Linked DNA regions of Homo sapiens: all the other regions are linked to region 2. The links are contacts of gene promoters, found by promoter capture Hi-C in human tissues and cell types (Jung and others, 2019). All regions are on one chromosome and are shown on one strand. The core of a region is centred on a gene start or on the middle of the fragment in contact, and the rest is flanking DNA. Distances in the headings are between cores, read along the strand shown. Region 1 has its middle 68 kb from the start of MEX3C. Region 2 holds the start of MRO (maestro). Region 3 has its middle 81 kb from the start of SMAD4.

Region 1 (2,863 bases), core at 208-2,707, 310 kb after region 2:
GTCATGCCGCTGCACTCCAGCCTGGGTGATAGAGTGAGATCCTGTCTCAAAAAAAAAAAAAAAAAAAAGTCCAGGGGAGGATCTGATTGGCTCATGTGTGTCATATGCTCAATATCAAATGCTGGCAAGGATGTGGAGAGGCTGGATCGCTCATCCGTTATTGGTGGGAATATAAAATGGTACTGACACTCAGGAAAACAGTTTGGCAGTTTCTTAAAAAATTAAGCAGACACTTCCCGTATGACTCAACAATGCCATTCCTGGGTATTTATCTCAGAGAAATGGAAGCTTACATCCACATAAAAACCTATACATAAATGTTCATAATAGTTTCATTTGTAATAGTCCCCAAAAAGCCAATCTCAAAACGTCACCTATTGTATGATTCCATTTATATAACATTCTTGAAATGAGAAAATTAAAGGGGGGAGAAGAGATTACGAATTGCTAGTTAGGGATGGTGGGGGTGGGTAGGGTAGCACGCGGGAGATCTTTGTGGGCTGGAATAGTTATCTTGATGGGTGGTGGGTACAGGAAGCTGCACACTGAAGAAATAGCACAGCACTATACACACATTGTATCAATGTCAATTTCCTGGGATGCTGTTGTACTGTACTTGTGTAAGAAGTAACCACTGGGCATAGAGGGGGTGAAGGTTACATGGAACCTCGCTATACTATTTTTGTAACTTGCAATCTATATTTATTTCAAACTAAAAAGTAAACAAATACTGGAGAACACTTAGCCGTGGGGGGAAATTATACCATTCTGTGGGGACTCAGGCAGTGCTAGGTGAATGAACAAATCCCAGTTGCCCTTGGGGAAGGGTGGGACAGCTGCCTCTATTTCTGCCTGTGCACTGAGAGAAGAGGGTCTGTTCTGTTCTCCCATCAATCCCAGTTGCAGCCATAACTGTGCTAAGTGATAAGCTTCAGACTCATCCATCTGGGTCTCGCCCCTCACTCTGAGCTCAGGGTGGAAAGAGAGGCCCATAGTCCCACCTCCAGGTGCATGCGTAATCCCTTGCGTAGGGGAGGAGTCTTAAAGGCACCATTGGCCTTTTGAAATGAGAAAGTTCACCCGGCAAGTGGCTCACGCCTATAGTCCTAGCTACTCAGGAGGCTGAGGCAAAGGATTGCTTGAGGCCAGGAGTTCGAGGCTGCAGTGAGCTATGATTGTGCCACTGCGTTCCAGCCTAGGCAACAGAGGGAGACCTGACTCGAAAAAAAAAAAAAAAAAAAGTTGGTGGAATTTTATTCAGCCAGCCAAAATGAATCCAACATAACAACATAGGAAATACTTCGGATGGTCAGTGAAACAATTAGGAGACAGTTTTATGTGCTCCATGTCTGTACCTATATATAAAATACGAATATCTGGATAAAAACAGGAACAGAATATGTCAAAATGAACACACCGTATCATGCTTTTATGACCGTAGGATTAAGGGTGAGTTTTCGTCTTTTGCTCTTCAAACTCTTCATGAAGTTGCTTGTGGTACTTTTTTTTTAGTTTTTAAATGTATAACTTGAGATGACATTCTTTGTAAACTGTCCCCATCTCCTGGTTCCCAACAACCACACTTTTCTTTCCTTTTTTTTTTGATACTGAGTCTCGCTCTGTCGCCCAGGCTGGAGTGCAGTGGCGTGATCTCGGCTCACTGCAAGCTCCGCCTCCTGGGTTCAAGCAATTCTCCTGCCTCAGCCTCCCAAGTAGCTGGGATTACAGGCGCCTGCCACCACATGTGGCTAATTTTTGTATTTTTTGTAGAGACGGAGTTTCACCTTGTTGGCCAGGCTGGTCTCAAACTCCTGACTTCAGGCGATCCACCCACTTCAGCCTCCCAAAGTGCTGGGATTACAGGCATGAGCCACCATGCCTGGCCATCCTTCCGCATTTTCTTGATGCAAATATAAGCAACTCTGAACTATATATATATATACACACACACATACACATACATATATATACACATACATATATACACACATATATACATACATATATACATACATATATACACATATATACATACATATATACACATATATACATACATATATACACATACATACATACATGTATATACACACATACATACATGTATACACACATACATACATGTATACGCACACATATACATACATGTATACGCACACATATACATACATGTATACGCACACACATACACATACATGTATACGCACACACATACACATACATGTATACGCACACATATACACATACATGTATACGCACACATATATACATACATGTATACGCACACATATATACATACATGTATACGCACACATATACATACATGTATACGCACACACATACATACATGTATACGCACACACATACATACATGTATACGCACACACATACATACATGTATACGCACACACATACATACATGTATACGCACACATATACATACATGTATACGCACACATATACATACATGTATATACACACATACATACATGTATATACACACATACATACATACATGTATATACACACATACATACATGTATATACACACATACATACATACATGTATATACACACATACATACATGTATATACATACATGTATATACATACATATATATACATACATACATGTATATACATACATATATATACATACATGTATATATACATACATGTGTATATACATACATACATGTGTATACATACATACATGTGTATACATACATACATACATGTGTATACATACATACATGTGTATATATACATATATACATACATGTGTATATATACATATATACATACATGTATATATGTATATATATATATATTTTTTGAGACAAGGTCTCACTTTGTTACCCAG
Region 2 (2,792 bases), core at 144-2,643:
TCCTTTTATTTATTGAAGCCAAAAGGTATATTATGAAGGCCAAAATTATAAAACACTTTGATTTTATCTCATCTGTAAAATGAGCAGAAGAAACTGTTAGATTGCTTAAAAATCCTTCCAACACTGAACTTATAAATGACAATAGTAGGCTGCGTGTGGTGGCTCATGCCTATAAATCCCAGCATTTTGGGAGGCTGAGGCAGGCAGATTGCTTGAGGTCAGGAGATCAAGACCAGCCTGAGCAACATGGTGAAACCCCGCCTCTACTAAAAATACAAAAATTAGCCAGACATGGTGGTGCACACCTGTAGTCCCAGCTACTCAGGAGGCTGAGGCAGAAGAATCACTTGAACCCAGGAGACAGAGGTTGCAGTGAGCCGAGATCGGGCCACCGCACCCCAGCTTGGGCAACACAACAAGACCCTGTCTCAAAAAAATGAAAAAAAAAATTAATATTAAAAAAATCGTCTTCATTTTAGAAAAGAAGAAACTGGGCTTAAAGTAATGTTGAACAATTAACTCAAAGTCAAATACTGGCAGAGCAGATTTTAGGACTCTGAAAGATATCCTTTCAGTCACTGTGCTATAAGCCTAGGTTCAGCTCCCAGGCAATGTCCTGTGAGCTGAACGAGGGAAGACAGACCGCATAGACATTTCAGTTTAAAGTGTCAATATCTTCCCTGAGTCCCTGCCATTCTATTATATTGCTGACAATAGAATGATCTATAACCCAACTATTGATCGATTAACATAGTTTGTGAAAAGCAAACAAAATCAGCTTCCTGGTCAACATTGCCCACTTCAGTTTTACAAAGAGAACATTACCAAATCCTACCCCCTAGAGGTCGAGCTCCCATACTGGTGACCAGAGTGACATTCCAGAAAGGTTTTGGGAACCCAAGTGCAGCCAGGACGCCTCCCGCTGCATCTGGCTGCCCCGGCCAACAGTGTCCCTTACCTGCGGCTCCTGCAGGCGGCTGCCACGTGATGAACCGGAGCCCGTTCCTGACTCGGGAGGGCTGCTTTCCCGGGTAGTAGCCAAATGTGATGACTCGGCTAAATTTTCCCAGCCCTGAATTCCTAACATACAAGAAGGGAAATTAGGAGGTGACGCAGGGTCTGTCCAGGATAACGGGTCGGCACAGAGTGTTGGAAAGTGAGAATCAAATAAGAGGGGAAAGTCAAAGTTTATAGAGTATTTGGGCAGGGGAGGGAATTGTTCTGGAATGAAACCGACAAGAATATTGTAGGGTGGCACAAGCATGACTTGCTACCTTTGCTTCCCCACGCCATGCTGAGGTGTTTTTCCTTCTCCTTGCTGTGATTTCCCCTCCTTCTTCCCTCATGCCAGCCTGGTCGACACTTTCTGCAGAAATTCTGCAGATGGCAATTCTGGGGACCTTTCCTCTGCACCAAACAAAACCTCCCTGCCAAGGCCCGTTCCCCATGCGGCCGCGAGATGGCGGCATGACTCAATGGACGGGTTCCAGGCGACCCCTGCACAAAGCCGCCGCCGTGGCTGCCTCCTTCCTTACATAATCCTGTTAGAGCGCATTTAATCTAAGGATGGGACACTGTGTTCCATGCCAAGCAGCCTCATCGTGGCTGATTGTTGCACCAACAACAAGAGCTTTAACCGTTGACGTCCCTTCCTGCTCAAGAAACACCGTATGTCCCGAAAGGAGCGATTTAAGCTCTCAAAATGATTTATTGGTAAAAAGCAAAGCAAAATTAAAACCGGGGAATTACAGCACCTGCAGAATTTAGGAGCCTCTCTCTCTCATCAGCCCTCCTTCCCTGACTCTCCAAACACGTGCATAAATCTATTTAACAATAATTAGTTATCGTCTCGCTCTGCATTGGGTCATAAAGGGAGAAAATATGTCCTGAAAGGAAAAAAGAACAGTTATATTTTCAAAGACAGAGGCACTTATTGTTATGCTAATAGATAACATTCAATTAAAACTTCTGTGTGCCAAATGTTGTGATAAATATTACATAGACTATCTCATTCAATTGTTACATCAAACCAAAGGTTAATACTCCTACTATAGTCTCCATTTTAAGGCTGGAGAAACTGAGGCACAGGGAGATTACCTTGACAAAGGTCATGCAGTTAATTTGTGGCAGTTAAAATTCAGCTACAGGCAGGCTAATGTAAGAGCTTGGACTCAGCCATGATGCTATGCACTGGACTGGTCTAGAAAACCCAGGAGATAAACAGAAAAATATAAACCAGAGAACTATGTCAGAGTGGAAGATGAAAGAAAAAGGCAGAAAGAAAATCGATGCTGCTGAGAAAATAAGAAGAATGAGGCTAAAACACCACCCTCTTCAGATTAAGTTACAAGGGAACCACTGTGACATTTGAGGACACAATTTCAATAGAGTGACAGAGAAAGGAAGCTAGACTGCAAAACTAAGGGGCTATGAGGAAAGAGGAAATTGAGATGTCTTGCTGCAAAAGGAAAGCAATAAATAGACTAGAAGAGACAGCAAGGTCAGGCAAAAGCATTTTGGTTTTCTTGTGTGCTTTTTGAAATGGAATAAAGCCTGGCCTTGTTTGAAAGTGGTTGCAAGGGAGCCCTAATATGTGGCTGGTGCCAAGTAGTGGTAATAGGAAGAGGTGGAGGGGGCATCAAGGGCACGAGGGAAAGGGTTAGCTCTGGAGGAGGAAGAAAGATGGCTGCCTCTGCCTGCAACTGGGAGGCAGCCACAGAGATGAAGATACATCAACACAAAACTGAGAGGAATGGGCGAGTTCAATTCTTCCAAATTAGCTTTAATCTTTT
Region 3 (2,938 bases), core at 323-2,822, 290 kb after region 2:
GTTTTTAACTTTGAAAGACGCTGTATCTTCATCTGTAAAACACTGACGGAAATACCTAACTTCTTAGGTTTGGCGTGAGCATAAAGTGAGAAAAGTGTACGTAACGATCTTAACGATATGACTGGAGCCTGGAAAGGCATTCCTGAGACCTCGCTACCGAAAGTGAAAGGGACGCATAATGGAAAAGTGTTAAGTCTGGGAGATGTCCGTGGCCTTTGAAGTGGACACGCCGGTCATAAACTTGGCCTAGAGGGACTGTTCAGTGTCCTGTTTGGGGAATGGTGGCCTCCTCCAAGGCTCACCACCGCGGCAGGTGTGGTCCTGGCTCTGCAGGTGAAGGGAGCTCCAGATTCTAGGTGTGGAGCGAGCCCTTTGCGAGGTGACAGCGCGAGGTCCCCTCAATGCACTGGGGAGGCGGATTTTCCCAGCGAGAAGGGGCTAGCAGGAGCTGCGTTTATTGTGAAGGCCCACAGGTAACGGGGCCATGCACCCCAGGGCGAGACTGGAGTTAAAGGTGGGCGGCAGTCCCTGGTATTCAAGGCCACCTAAGACACCCTGGACGGTGGACCCTGGGAAAGAGCCGGGGTGCCCCCGCCCTGGCCAGGGTTTGCCCCTTGTGGGGCGGAGGGAGCTGGGGCAAGCAGCGCTGACGGTAGCCTGGGAACTGGGCCAGGGTCTGCAGGGCGGGCTGGGAGCAGGGCAGGAGGGAGGAGAGGGAAGAGGGCAGTGGGGTCAGAGGGCCCCAGCGCCTGCCCCGGGCTGGGGATACCACGCAGCCGAGTTCCCACGGCCACCACTGGGTGTCGCCCTTGCCCCGCGAAGGGAGCAGGCGCGCGTTTCCCGAGGCGCCTCTGTCCTCCCAGCTCCTCCGGGCTAGATAGACAATGTCCCGGGACCCAGGTGGGCGTAGTGGACCAAGCCCGGAGTCGTCAACCGCAGTCCCTGAGGGGCTGGCCCTGTGCAGAGCCCGAGGCTGGGTGGGCTTGGACCGCTGCCTTCAGAGAGCCCGCCAGGCCCAGCCTTGCCCGGACGCTCCCAGCACCTGGATTCTGCGGAGTCTGGATCTTCACTGTGAGGCTGCCGGGCCCTCCAGGAGACATCCTGTTGTGTCCAGAATTGGTGGGTTCTTGGTCTCACTGACTTCAAGAATGAAGCCGCGGACCCTCGTGGTGAGTGTTACAGTTCTTAAAGGCGGTGTGTCCGGAGTTTGTTCCTTCTGATGTTCGGATGTGTTCGGAGTTTCTTCCTTCTGGTGGGTTCGTGGTCTCGCTGGCTCAGGAATGAAGGTGCAGACCTTCGCAGTGGGTGTTACAGCTCTTAAGATGGCGCATCTGGAGTTGTTCGTTCCTCCCGCTGGAGTTGTTCGTTCCTCCCAGTGGGTTCGTGGTCTCACTGGCTTCAGGAGTGAAGCTGCAGACATTCGTGGTGAGTGTTACAGCTCTTAAAGGCAGTGTGGACCCAAAGAGTGAGCAGTAGCAATATTTATTGCAAAGAGCGAAAGAACAAAGCTTCCACAGTGTGGAAGGGGACCCAAGTGGGTTGCCACTGCTGGCTCAGGCAGCCTGCTTTTATTCTCTTATCTGGCCCTACCCACATCCTGCTGATTGGTCCATTTTACAGAGAGCTGATTGGTTTGTTTTACAGAGAGCTGATTGGTCCGTTTTGACAGGGTGCTGATTGGCGCGTTTACAATCCCTGGGCTAGACACAAAAGTTCTCGGTGTCTCCACTAGATTAGCTAGATACAGAGTGTCAACTGGTGTGTTTACAAACCCTGAGCTAGACACAGAGTGCTGATTGGTGCATTTACAAACTGTGAGCTAGATACAGAGTGCCGATTGGTGCATTCACAATCCCTTAGCTAGACATAAAGGTTCTCCAAGTCCCCACCAGATTAACTAGATACAGAGTGCCAACTGGTGCCTTCACAAACCCTGAGCTAGACACAGGGTGCTGATTGGTGTGTTTACAAACCTTGAGCTAGATACAGAGTGCTGATTGGTGTATTTAGAATCCCCTAGCTAGACATAAAGGTTCTCTAAGTCCCTACCAGACTCAGGAGCCCAGCTGGCTTCACCCAGTGGATCCCGCACCGGGGCCGCAGGTGGAGCTGCCTGCCAGTCCTGCGCCATGCGCCTGCACTCCTCAGCCCTTGGGCGGTCAATGGGACCAGGGGCCGTGGAGCAGGGGGCAGCACTCGTCTGGGAGGCTTGGGCCATGCAGGAGCCCACGGTGGCGGGGCGGGGGAAGGCTCAGGTATGGCAGGCTGCAGGTTCTGAACCCTGCCCCGCAGGGAGGCAGCTAAGGCCTGGTGAGAAATCGAGCACAGCAGCTGCTGGCCCAGGTGCTAAGCCCCTCACTGCCCAGGGCCAGCAGGGCTGGCTGGCCGCTCCGAGCATGGGCCCCCCAAGCCCACACCCACCCGGAACTTGCGCTGGCCTGCAAGCACTGTGCACAGCCCTGGTTCCCACCCGTGCCTCTCCATCCACACCTCCCCGCAAGCTGAGGGAGCTGGCTCTGGCCTCGGCCAGCCCAGGAAGGGGCTCCCACAGTGCAGCAGTGGGTTGAAGGGCTCCTCAAGTGCCACCAGAGTGGGTGCCCAGGCAGAGGAGGCTCCGAGAGCGAGCGAGGTCTGCGAGGGCTGCCAGCATGCTGTCACCTCTCAATCCCCCCTCTAAACAGGACACCCCAACTGCTGTTGGGAATTTGGCCGATGACCGCTCTAGCTACTTCCTGCTGGATAGGGGCAAAGAAGGGGCCCTGCAGTTGTAGTGTCCTCCAGAGGGGAACTCTCTAGGCCAGTGGAAGTGCCAGTGGGTTGGTCCATGGGTCCTTGGTAGAAGTTGTTAGTTGAACTCATTTGGAGTTCCATTTGTAAGACCATCTGTAGCTTGATGGCCTCAATTCTAGAGGAAACAAATTTGACAAGAAGGTTAAAA

What was found. The method cuts DNA at HindIII sites, captures the fragments that hold promoters and counts their contacts. A contact is called where the count stands out against the background at its distance.
Region 1: a fragment that was not itself captured here is called in contact with the fragment with the promoter of MRO in region 2 in 2 of the 25 tissues and cell types used here (H1 embryonic stem cells and spleen).
Region 3: a contact is called between a fragment that was not itself captured here and the fragment with the promoter of MRO in region 2, in 3 of the 25 tissues and cell types used here (lymphoblastoid cells, mesendoderm cells and small bowel).

Annotation. Positions count from the first base shown.
Region 1 is chr18:51,128,567-51,131,429 of GRCh38, forward strand. No RefSeq gene overlaps it. Among named protein-coding and RNA genes, the nearest start is that of MEX3C, 68 kb to the right of the region's middle. The HindIII fragment of the contact is 5,752 bases long and covers 1-2,863 here.
Region 2 is chr18:50,818,623-50,821,414 of GRCh38, forward strand. It overlaps MRO (maestro), which reads right to left and starts at 1,394. Exons shown (of 8, transcript NM_031939.6): 1 at 1,275-1,394; 2 at 959-1,080. RefSeq lists enhancers at 1,079-1,712, 1,549-1,598. The HindIII fragment of the contact is 21,582 bases long and covers 1-2,792 here.
Region 3 is chr18:51,109,706-51,112,643 of GRCh38, forward strand. No RefSeq gene overlaps it. Among named protein-coding and RNA genes, the nearest start is that of SMAD4, 81 kb to the left of the region's middle. RefSeq lists enhancers at 1-469, 470-969 and a silencer at 712-821. The HindIII fragment of the contact is 7,166 bases long and covers 1-2,938 here.